Regions from separate parts of the Homo sapiens genome. Here region 1 is linked to region 2. Evidence: promoter capture Hi-C in human tissues and cell types (Jung and others, 2019). All regions are on one chromosome and are shown on one strand. Each heading gives the region's core, a stretch centred on a gene start or on the middle of the fragment in contact. The rest is flanking DNA. Distances are from core to core; before and after follow the strand shown.

Region 1 (6,060 bases), core at 2,701-5,200, 51 kb before region 2:
CCGAGGTTGTGTCACTGCACTCCAGCCTGGGTGACAGAGCGCAACTCCGTCTCAAAAAAAAAAAAAAAAAAAAAAAGAGAAAGAAAGAAAGAAATGGCTCACGCAGGGCTCAGCATGGTGGCTTATGCCTGTAATCCCAGCACTTTGGGATGCCGAGGTGGGAGGATCGCTTGGGCCCAGGAGTTGGAGACCAACCTGGCAACATGGTGAGATCACTTGAACCCGGGTGAAACCCCATCTCTACTAAAAATACAAAAATTAGCTGGGCGTGGTGGCCCACATCTGTAGTCCCAGCTACTCGAGAGGCTGAGGCAGGAGAAATGCTTGAAACAGGGAAGCAGAGGTTGCAGTGAGCTGAGATTGTGCCACTGCACTCCAGCCTGGGCCACAGAGCAAGACTCTATCTCAAAAAAAAAAAAAAAAAAAAAAAAAAACAGAAAAAAGGAGACATTATAATCTCAAGTAGGAAATAAGAGAAAAATGTAAGCCATTCCAAAGCTTACTATTGAAATTATATTTAAACATTCTAATAGCTCTTCCTTTCTATAACTGACAAATTAATGTCAATATTTCTTGTATTCAGTTGGATTTGAAATCAATCCAAATGTACGTTTTCATTTTGAATATTTTAAAATAATGAGTTCAGAAAACAGGAAAAGATATAAATCTTTTAAACTCTTCTTTCTTTCTTTACCATTATAACTGTTATTAAAACTGGGCAAGGCTGCCGGGTGCAGTGGCTCACGCCTGTAATCCCAGCACTTTGGGAGGCCAAAACAGGTGGATCACGAGGTCAGGGGATCAAGACCATCCTGGCTAACACGGTGAAACCCCGTCTCTACTAAAAATACAAAAAAATTAGCTGGGCGTGGTGGCGGGCGCCTGTAGTCCCAGCTACTCGGGAGGCTGAGGCAGGAGAATGGCATGAACCTGGGAGGCAGAGCTTGCAGTGAGCCGAGATCGTGCCACTGCACTCCAGCCTGGGTTACAGAGGGAGACTCCATCTCAAAAAACAAAACAAAACAAAACAAAAAAAACTGGGCAAGGCTGTACAGCACCAAGGAAGAGAGAGGAAGGAAGGAAAGAAGGGAGAGAGTGAGGGAAACACAGAAGGAAAGAAGGAAGAAAGGAAGGAAAAGAAAGGGAATTATTGGTCACTATTACTTATGAACATGTATGCCAAAGTTATAATATTAATAAACCAAACCTAATATTAACAAACAACATAATATTAAAAGAATAATATATCACAACCTGTAGGGTTTATTCCAGGTAAACAAGATTGACTACATATAGGAATTTTTTCTTTTTGCTTTCTTTTTTTTTTTTGAGACGGAGTCTCACTCTGTAGCCCAGGCTGGAGTGCAGTAGCGCCATCTTGGCTCACTGCAACCTCTGCCTCCAAAGTTCAAGTGATTCTCCTGCCTCAGCCTCCCAAGTAGCTGGAATTACAGGCATGCACCACCATGCCAGGCTAATTTTTGTATTTTTAATAGAGACAGGGTTTCACCATGTTTGCCAGGCTGGTCTTGGACTCTTGACCTCAAGTGATCCGCCTGCCTTGGCCTCCCAAAGTGCTGGAATTACAGACGTGAGCCACCGCACCCAGCCAAGAAATTTATCTATGTAATTTATTGTATTGAAAAATTAACAAAGAAAATGCTTATGATTATTTCAGGAGATATGAAAATAGTATTTTGTAAAATTCAACACCTGTTCATTTTTTTCTTTTTTTTTGAGATGGAGTCTCGCTCTGTTGCCCAGGCTGGAGTGCAGTGGTGCCATCTTGACTCGCCACAGTCTCCACGTCCCAAGTTCAAGTGATTCTCCTGACTCAGCCTCCTGAGTAGCTGGGATTACAGATGCCCGCCACCACGTCCAGCTAATTTTTGTATTTTTAGTAGCAACGGGGTTTCGCTATGTTAGCGAGGCTGGTCTCGAACTCCTGACCTCCGGTGATCTGCCTGCCTCGGCCTCCCAAAGTGCTGGGGTTACAGGCATGAGCCACGGTGCCCAGCTAACACCTGTTCATGATTTATTAAATTTAAAAAAAAAAAGCTTTTTAGCCAGCTTTCACTTCTTTATAGTCTTCTGGGTCTATAGAAGTTTAAGATAATAATTTTGTGTATTGCTTGTGCAATGTTTTTTTTTTTTAAATAGAGACAGGGTTTCCTTATGTTGCCCAGGCTGGTCTGGAACTCCTGGGCTCAAATGATCCTCCTGCCTCAACCCCCCAAAGTTTAGGGATTACAGATGTGAACCACTGTGCCTGGTTCACTTGTGCAATTTTTAAAAATTGACAAATCACGCAGAAAAACCAGCAACTTATGTCATGATCAAATTTATTACATAGGCCAGGTGTGGTGGCTCACACCTGTAATTCCAGCAGTTTGGGAGGCTGAGGTGGGCAGATTGTTTGAACCCAGGAGTTCCAGACCAGCCTGGGCAACATGGCAAAACCCCGTCTTTACAAAAAAATACAAAAATTAGCTGGGCATGGTGGCACGTGCCTGTATTCCCAGCTAATAGGGAGCCTGAGGTGAGATAATCGCTTGAGACCAGAAGGTTGAGGCTGCAGTGAGCTGTGATCACATCACTGAACTCCAGCCTGGATGACAGAGCAAGACCCTGACTCAGAAAATAAAATAAAATCGACTGGCCGCGGTGGCTCTCGCCTGTAATTCCAGACTTTGACAGGCTGAGGCGGGCAGATCACTTGAGGTCAGGAGTTTGAGACCAGCCTGGCCAACATGGTGAAATCCCATTTCTACTAAAAATACAAAAAAAAATTAGCTAGGTGTGGTGGCGCGCACCTGTAATCCCAGCTACTCTGGAGGCTGAGGCAGGAGAATCGCTTGAACCCAGGAGGTGGAAGTTGCAGTGACCTAAGATCACGCCATTGCACCCCAGCCTGGGTGACAGAGCTAGAGGCTGTCTCAAAAAAAAACAAAAAACAAAAAAAAAAAACACACACACACACACAAAGTACAATAAAATAATGTATTACATAATGCCCAGCTTTCTATTTTTCTATCTCTACCATCATAGCCTTTGTCATGAGGCAAAAATAACAAGAACTATTTCTTACTATATAGAAAATAATAGAAATGGGCCATGCGTGGTGGCTCGTGCCTGTAATCCCAGCACTTTGGGAAGCCAAGGCGGGCAGATCACCCGAGGTCAGGAGTTCAAGACCAGCCTGGCCAACATGGCAACATGGTGAAACCCCATCTCTACTAAAAATACAAAAAAATTAGCTGGGCATGGTGGTGGGTATCTGTAATCCCAGCTACTCGGGAGGCTGAGGCAGGAGAATCACTTGAACCCAGGAGGCAGAGGTTGCAGTGAGCCGAGATTGCGCCATTGCACTCCAGCCTGAGCAACAATAGCAAAACTCCGTCTCAAAAAAAAAAAAGGAAAGAAAGAAAAAGAAAATAATAGAAATGGCTGGGCATAGCCAAGTGCGGTGGCTCACGCCTGTAATCCCAGTACTTTGGGAGGCAGAGGTGGGCAAATCACCTGAGGTCAGGAGTTCGAGACCAGCCTGACCAACATGGAGAAACCCCGTCTCTACTAAAAACACAAAATTAGCCAGGCGTGGTGGTGCATGCCTGTAATCCCAGCTACTCGGGAGGCTGAGGCAGGAGGATCGCTTGAACCCAGGAGGCAAAAGTTGCAGTGAGCAAAGATCACACCATTGCACTCCAGCCTGGGCAACAAGAGCAAAACTCCATCTCGAAAAAAATAAAATAAATAAATAAAAATCAAAGAAGACCTACATTTATATAGATCATATATGTTCATTTCTTTCTTTCTTTTTTTTTGAGACAGAGTCTCGCTCTGCCGCCCAGGCTAGAGTGCAGTGGTGCATCCTGGCTCACTGCAACCTCTGTCCCCTGGGTTCAAGTGATTCTCCTGCCTCAGCCTCCCGAGTAGCTGGGACTACAGGTGCCTGCCACCATGCCCAGCTAAATTTGTATTTTTACTAGAGACAGGGTTTCACCATGTTGGCCAGGCTGGTCTCGAACTCCTGACCTCAGGCGATTCGCCAGCCTTGGCCTACCAAGTGCTAGTATTACAGGCGTGAGCCACTGCGCCTGGCCTGATTTTTAATTAATATGCACAAACTCACATGAGAATTCTGACCATGTTGAGTATTCTCTCCTGAATTATTTAAGCCATCTCATTTCAATAAATTCACATATAAATAATTAGTTTTAATAATTTCATTATAGAGAGTCTTGTGAATTCTTGAAGTTCTTAAATGAAATTTAAATGGCCATATTACGAACTGTTAACAAGTCAATGTTAAAATTTGAGGAACTCATTTTTAAAATACTAAGATACCAAGAATGTGGACATAAAGCAAGAAAAAGTTTTTCTGAATATGAAATAGAAAATAATATAAACATAACATAGTGGCCTGGCCAACGAGATGGTTTGTAAATTTGTTGCTGAATAGGAAATGACCAGTACCCACGTCAACAAGTGCCCACGTCAGGCTCTAATTGCACTGATGTAAAAAACAAGCCAGGCATGGTGGCTCATGCCTGTAATCCCAGCACTTTGGGAGGCCAAGGTGGGCGGATCACCTGAGGTGAGGAGTTCCAGACCAGCCTGGCCAACATGGTGAAACCCCGTCTCTGGTAAAAATACAAAAATTAGCTGGGCGTGGTGGCAGGTGCCTGTAGTCCCAGCTACTCAGGAGGCTGAGGCAGGAGAATCACTTGAACCCAGGAGGTGGAGGTTGCAGTGAGCCAAGATCACACCATTGCACTCCAGCCTGGGCAACAAGAGCAAAAACTCCATCTCGAAACAAACAAACAAACAAAAAGCTGGACGTGGTGGCTTATGCCTATAATCCCACTTTGGGAGACTGACGCAGGAGGATTGCTTCAGCCCAGGAGTTTGAGACCAGCCTGGGCAACATACCAAGACTCCATCCCTACAAAAAAAAAAACTTAAAAAACAAACAAACCTCCCCCAGAAATAACTGCTATGATTGCACTGTAAAAATAATAATAATAAATTAAAATAATGATAGGGCTGTAGTTTACAAACCATTTATGAAGTGGAACATCCCTCCGCAGCTGTTTGGCTGTCCCCAAAAGGGTATATCAATCTTACCTGAACTTTGTGCCAAGCTCTCTGGGCACCTGGAAAACAAACTGTAGAGGGTAGGTGGATGGCCATTCTCCACAGCTGACCACTACAGTAGAGGTCCAGAAACGAAGAGGCCAACCGTGGCCAAGCTCAGCTCATGCTGGTGGAGCAGCAGGGGACCAGAGAAAGGATAGTGTAATGGTTTGGAGCAGGACCCTGAAACGAGACTGCCCAGGGGAGGCAGGTGCCCTTGGACAAGTGACGTAACCTCTCTGTTCCTGAGTTTTTTGCCTAAAAAATAGGGGTGCTAATCATACCTACTTCATGAGGTAGTTACACAGGTTTAATGCTCGTAAAGTGCTTAAGGATGGTATCTGGCACTGTAAGTACTATTTTTTTTTTTTTTTTTTTTTGAGACGGAGTCTCTCTGTCGTTCAGGCTGGAGTGCAGTGGTGCCATCTCGGCTCACTGCAAGCTCCGCCTCCCGGATTCATGCCATTCTCCTGCCTCAGCCTCCCACAGAGCTGGGACTACAGGTGCCCGCCACCTTGCCCGGCTAATTTTTTTGTATTTTTTAGTAGAGACGGGGTTTAACCGTGTTAGCCAGGATGGTCTCGATCTCCTGACCTTGTGATCCGCCCACCTTGGCCTCCCAAAGTGCTGGGATTACAGGTGTGAGCCACCGTGCCCGGCTGTAAGTACTATTTTTTATAGTAACTACTATAAATTGTATCAGACTGTGCTGCCAAACCACCACCAAGCTCTGCCTTAGTGTAGATTTCCCCCAAAAGCAAAGCCTAGAATAAAGATTCAGGGGCAAATGATTTAAGTGGGGAAGTGACACAAGGAAGGACAGGCAGCCAATATAGGGTGTAATAATGAGTAAGCTGCCACTCCAGGCAATGGGGCTCCTCCACCAGGGCATCCTTTGAAAAACCCGTGGAACACTGCTCAAAA
Region 2 (6,260 bases), core at 17-2,516:
GCCCAGGCCCCTCCCCTCAACCCAAGAAGTCACTACAACTTTACCACCATCTAAATTATTTGTTTAATAACAAAAAAACAGCCCCACAGAACTATTGTAAAACAATATTTTCAGTCGGTGATCATTGTAATATACAATACAAAGCAATTTCCTCAGAAATCTGAGAAGCACCAAACGTGACCATTTTTTAAAATGTCTGCTTTTCAAAAAATAGAAACACACGAGTGGAATCCCACCCCCTAAAGTCTCTGGTGACTAGTAGGTGTGCAGAGAGGAGCGCCCTCTCCTCGCCAGTGCCTCAGCCTCAGCCCCAGGCTGGATGCAGTTAAGGGCGCAGTGGCCGCCGATCGGTCTTGTTCTCCCTCAGATCCGGCGAGGCGCGTTGGGGGAGACCCACAGAGCACGTAATTCCTCTTGCCCCCTGGATGGCTGGGGTCCGCCGGTCCCTGGGGGAGGCGCTTCAGCGACACAAGATGCGATCGTCCGCAGGAACGCATGCCGCCTGTGAAAACGAGAAGAAATGAGACCGGCGGGTTGGAAGGGACGCCGCTCCGAGCGCAGCGAACGCCCCCTTCCCCAGGAAGCACGACGGGGGAGCGCTTTTTCCAGGCTCCTTAGGCACCCCCGCATAGCCAGGTACCCGCAAGGATGGGACGGAAGTGGTGCAAGCGCCCACGCCCTCTCTGGCCTCCGTTTCCCCGTCGGTATAAGGATGATCTAGTGGTCGGATCTGGATCTCACCTCGGCCGTCAGGGCGCTGATCTCGCCGTTGAGGGTGCTGAGCGGAGCCCGGACCGGCAGCCCTCGGCCCCCGGGGGTTCCAACTTCGGATTCCGAGTTCAGCTCCAACTGAAGGTCCCTGATGTAGTCGATGACGTGCTGGAGAATCTCCACCTTGCTCACCTTGCGGTTCTGGGGCAGGGTGGGCACCAGCTCCTTGAGGCGTGAGTAACAGCCGTTCATGTCGTAGAGCAGCACGTTTACCTGCTGCTCGTCCAGCAGGGCAGGCAGGCGCGCCCCGGCGCCCCCGGCGCAGCGCGAGATGGCCACGCTCTGCTCAGACAGACAGCGCACCACCTCGCCCGCACCGCTCGCTGTCTTGCCGGCCTTCAGCGCGCAGCTGGGGCCCGCGGCGGCGGTGGCGGTGCTGCCACTGGCGACTTTCATGATTCTTGGCGACTGGCTGAAACAGAATGGGCAAAGCGAAAAAAATGAGGTGGAAGCCCGAAGCAGATACGGAAAATGGAACAGTTAAGAACGTGGAATGAGAGTGCGGAGCCACAGCTTGTCTTTTATAAACACGCCACGGCCCCCGGAGGGGCGGGCTCAGAACGTTCAAAAGCAGCCAATGGGCGGCATGGGGGCGTGACCCGCGCTCCTAGGTCCAGCCTCCTGCTCGTCTAGTGCCTGCTCGCAGTGTGGAAAGACGACCCGGGTTTCAGAACAGCAAGGGTGGGTCGGTGGCAGGGCACCGGGCAGGGCAGCGGGTAGAGGCGAGGGCCGCACTGGGCTCCTCTGGAAGGAGGCAAGGAAGCTAAGCAGGCATTGCCTTATAATGAAAAGACCTCAGGAATCAGTTTTTCCCATATTCACTTTCTCACTTCTCCAGCTCCATTTCACAGATGAGAGAAATTGAGGCCCGAACGGAGAAGCGGCTGGCTCTGGATAGCCCAGAGAGCCTGGGTTTCCGGACCCTCTTGGAAGATGCTTCTCGGACCCTGATCTACAAATATCAGGACCGAAATTTAAAGCGGGCGCTCCTTTACATCTGCTCCCCTGGGCTTTCTCAATTCCTAAATAATGTTGCTGTTCGTGTTCCTGAGACCCGGAGGGCCTACCCAGATCCCTCCCGGGTGGGAGCAATTAATTCGGGAAAGTCTAGTAAGTTTGGGGCTGGGTGGCTGGGAAGTGAACTAGATAGAGCGCAGTGGAGTGAGGCTGCATTCGATTCCACCTTGAATTTGCAGCTCCTTGCAAAAATTTCCTGAACCTGCAACAGTTCGTGATTTTTTAATGTTTTTTCCCATTTTTGGCTGCTTTTTAAATTTTCTTCTCAAAGACCTCAGAGCAGGGTCTCCCTCCCACGGCGCGGCAGCTGCGGAGCTACAGTCTCCCCCCTCCCTTCCCGGGCCGGTCTGTGTCAGCGTCTGAACCAGCGGCTCAGACCGTTAGACGCCAGGCCTGTGACGTCACCCATTCATAAAACCCGGACGGACTGTCAGGCTGGCGCCGCGCGGGCGGTCGCCATGGAGACGACAAACTGGTCTAGCTAGTTCCCGTGCTCCCCCCAGCCCGTCACCTGCAGACCCCGGGCGGGAGGCCTGGGAATGCGTTTCTTGCGGGCGCGGTCGCTGAGCAAGGGTCACCTTACCTCCCCGCCCCACACCTGCGAGTCTCCCAACCCAGACCCACAGCTTGGGCCGCTTGGGGTTTCTTCACCGCTCCCCCCACCTCTCCGCCCCAGCTACCCCTTCCAGCGTGGGGAAAAAGGCCTGAGTTCTCTTTCCAGCTCTGCAGCTGAGTGAATTCAGGCGGGTCGCATGCCCTCTCTGAGCCCTAATATTTAATATCTGCTTGGTGTTTAAATAATAATCACAAACGTGACCATTATTAATTTCTTACTTTGTACAGCGGGCACTGTATGAAGAGTTTGTCTTGATCATCTTTTTTCATTTATTTCTTATTTTAAAAAATGAAGGGCTGCGCGGTGGCTCACGCCTGTAATCCCAACAATTTGGAAGGCCGAGGCGGGTGGATTGCCTGAGGTCAGGAGTTCGAGACCAGCCTGACCAATATGGTGAAACCCCATCTCTACTAAAAATACAAAAATTAGCCGGGCATGGTAGCGTTCGCCTGTAATCCCAGCTACTCGGGAGGCTGAGACAGGAGAATTGCTTGAACCTGGGAGGCGGAGGTTGCAGTGAGCCGAGATCGCACCACTGCACTCAAGCCTGGCGACAGAGTGAGACTCGTCTCAAAAAAAAAAAAAAAAAAAAGGATACAGGGGGCCGGGCGCAGTGGCTCACGCCTGTAATCCCAGCACTTTGGGAGGCCGTGGTGGGCAGATCACGAGGTCAGGAGTTCGAGACCAGCCTGACCAACATGGTGAAATCCCGTCTCTACTAAAAATGAAAAATTAGCCAGGTGTGGTGGCGCGCACCTGTAATACCCCAGCTACTCAGGAGGCTGAGGCAGGAGACTCGCTGGAACCCAGGAGGCGGAGGTTGTAGTGAGCCGAGATTATGCCACTGCACTCCAGCCTGGGCGACAGAGTGGGACTCTGTTTCAAAATAAAATAATAATGATACAGGGTCTTACTCTGTCACCCGGCTTGATCAACTTCTGTAGTCTTTTTCACAACTCTAAAGAAAGGAGCTCTTTGGTTTCTTTATACAAAGGAAACTGAGGCTCCACACGACGCCTAAGTCATAACCATAGTTGTGTTATTATAAGGAGGGTACAGTGTTGTAATGCAACCGCTTCCTGCTGAGAGCAGGCAGTCTGACTGCAGAGTCCTGGACATGCCACAGGTGGGGAAACCGAAGCTCAGATTAGTCACCCAAAGCCACACAACATTAGCAGGGGTAAAAATCTGTGCTCACCAGTGGAGGGTGATATTATGGTCCCTCCCTGCTCCGCTCCACCGCACTACCCCGCAGCAATTAATTCACTGAGTTATCAGCAGGTTCCGTTTTCCCACAGAAGTTCGGGGGATGAGGGAAAAGTAAAGGAGCCTTCTGCCTCCACATCAGGAAACCAGGAAAACCAAACCAATCAGTGAGACCAGCTTCAAAAGAGAGAGACATCATCAATTAATTAGCCAGACTCCTCATCCCCTTACCACACACACCAAAACTCTCTAAACTCCCTACGCCTTGTTTAGCAATCCTAAATTAATGATGGGAGGGAATAGTTTGCTGCTCAAAAGAATTGCCAAATAATTGGAAGAACAACAGTCAACCAGAGGAAATTAGAGTATTAATTCATCACCAAGTGTTTATTTTTGTTTATTTTTGAGGCAGAGTCTCGCTCTGTTGCCCAGACTGGAGTGCAGTGGCGCGATCTCAGCTCACTGCAACCACCACCTCCTGAGTTCAAGTCATTCTCCTGCCTCAGGCTGGGATTACAGGCACCCACCACCACGCCCATCTAATTTTTGTATTTTTAGTGGAGACGGGGTTTTGCCATGTTGCCTAGGGTGGTCTCAAACTCCTGACCTCAGGTGATCCGCCCGCCTTGGCCTCCCAAAGTGCTGGGATTACAGGCATGAGCCACCGTGCCTGGCCATCACCAACTATTTATTTATTTTTTTTTGAGATAGAGTCTCAGACTGTCACCCAGGCTGGAGTGCAATAGCACAGTCTTGGTTCACTGCAACCTCCGCCTCCTGGGTTCAAGCGATTCTTCTGCCTCAGCCTCCCAAGTAGCTGGGATTACAGGTGCCCGCCACCACACCAGGCTAAATTTTTTGTCTTTTTAGTAGAGACGGGGTTTCACTATGTTGGCCAGGCTGGTCTCAAACTCCTGACCTTGTGATCTCTCCACCTCAGACTCCCAAAGTACTGGGATTACAGGCGTGAGCCACAGTGCCTGGCCTTCAACTGTGAATTAATTGATCCAGCAATTCTGTTTACTGCAATGAATTCCAGAGAAACCAGCTTGGCCAACATAGCAAAACCCAGTCTCTACTAAAAATACAAAAATTAGCCAGGTGTGGTGGTGGGCGCCTGTAGTCCCAAGTACCTGGGAGGCTGAGGCAGGAGAATCATTTGAACCCAGGAGGTGGAGGTTGCAGAGAGCCGAGACCAAGCCACTGCACTCCAGCCTGGGCGACAGAGTGAGATTCTGATTCAAAAAAATAAAAATAAGAGAGAAAATTATGCTGTAGAAATTAATTCAGGGCCAGGCGCAGTGGCTCACGCCTGTAATCCCAGCAGTTTGTAAGGCCAAGCCAGGTGGATAACCTGAGGTCAGGAGTTCGAGATCAATCTGGCCAACATGGTGAAACCTCATCTCTACTAAAAATAGAAAAATTAGCAGGGCGTGGTGGTGCACACCTGTAATCCCAGCTACTTGGGAGGCTAAGGCAAGAGAATTTCATGAACCCAAGAAGTGGAGATTGCAGTGAGCCAAGATGCCACCACGGCATTCCAGCCTGGGTGACAAAGCAAGACCCTGTCTCAAAATATAAATACATAAAATAAATAAAATGACATAGTATTTGTATAAAACCTATGCATATCCTTCTATCCACTTTTTTTTTTTTTTGAGACGGAATCTCGCTCTGTCACCCAGGCTAGAGTGCAATGGCACGATCTCCGCTCACTGCAACCTCTACCTCCCAGATTCAAGCAATTCTCCTGCCTCAGCCTCGCGAGTAGCTGGGATTACAGGTGCCCACCACCACACCTGGCTAATTTTTGTATTTTTAGTAGAGATGGGATTTCGCCACATTAGCCAGGCTGGTCTCGAACTCCTGACCTCAGGTTATCCGCCCTTTTCCACTTCCCAAAAATGCTACACTTGCAGGCGTGAGTCACCGCGCCCGGTCTTTTTTTGTTTTTGTTTTTTGTTTTTTGAGACACAGTCTCGCTCTGTCCCCAAGGCTGGAGTGCAATGGCACGGTCTCGGCTCACTGCAACCTCCGCCTCCCGGGTTCATGACATTCTCCTGCCTCAGCCTCCTGAGTAGCTGGGACTACAGGTGCCCGCCACCACGCCTGGCTAATGTTTTTCTTTTCTTCTTTTTTTTTTTTTTGAGATGCAGTCTCGCTCTGTCGCCCAGGCTGGAGTGCAGTGGTACGATCTCAGCTCACTGCAAGCTCTGCCTCCTGGGTTCACGCCATTCTCCTGCCTCAGCCTCCCGAGTAGCTGGGACTACAGGCACGCGCCACCACGCCCGGCTAATTTTTTGTATTTTTAGTAGAGACAGGGTTTCACCGTGTTAGCTAGGATGGTCTCGATCTCCTGACCTCGTGATCTGCCCACCTCGGCCTCCCAAAGTGCTGGTATTACAGGCATGAGCCACTGCACCTGGCCTTCTTTCTTTTTCTTTTTTGTTTTTTGAGACAGAGCCTCACTCAAGTCGCCCAGGCTGGAGTGCAGTGGCATGATCTCAGCTCACTGCAACCTCCGCCTCCCAGGTTCAAGCAATTCTCTGCCTCAGCCTCCCGAGTAGCTGGGATTACAGGTGCCCGCCACCATGCTCAGCTAATTTTTGTATTTTTTTTTTTAGTAGAGACAGGGTTTCACCATCTTGGC

Evidence for each region. Contacts are between HindIII fragments. The study calls those that stand out against the background at their distance.
Region 1: a contact is called between a fragment that was not itself captured here and the fragment with the promoter of ID1 in region 2, in 5 of the 25 tissues and cell types used here (IMR-90 fibroblasts, lymphoblastoid cells, mesenchymal stem cells and 2 more).

The regions. Positions count from the first base shown.
Region 1 is chr20:31,653,927-31,659,986 of GRCh38, reverse strand. No RefSeq gene overlaps it. Among named protein-coding and RNA genes, the nearest start is that of BCL2L1-AS1, 18 kb to the left of the region's middle. The HindIII fragment of the contact is 5,343 bases long and covers 1,279-6,060 here.
Region 2 is chr20:31,600,295-31,606,554 of GRCh38, reverse strand. ID1 (inhibitor of DNA binding 1) reads right to left here and starts at 1,266. Exons shown (of 2, transcript NM_002165.4): 1 at 742-1,266; 2 at 45-502. The coding sequence starts at 1,167. The coding sequence ends at 461. LOC105372588 (a long non-coding RNA gene) reads left to right here and starts at 1,360. Exons shown (of 2, transcript XR_936669.2): 1 at 1,360-1,452; 2 at 1,610-1,864. RefSeq lists enhancers at 1-112, 159-828, 829-1,499, 1,889-2,068, 1,804-2,642 and 1 more and a silencer at 3,395-3,689. The HindIII fragment of the contact is 38,824 bases long and covers 1-6,260 here.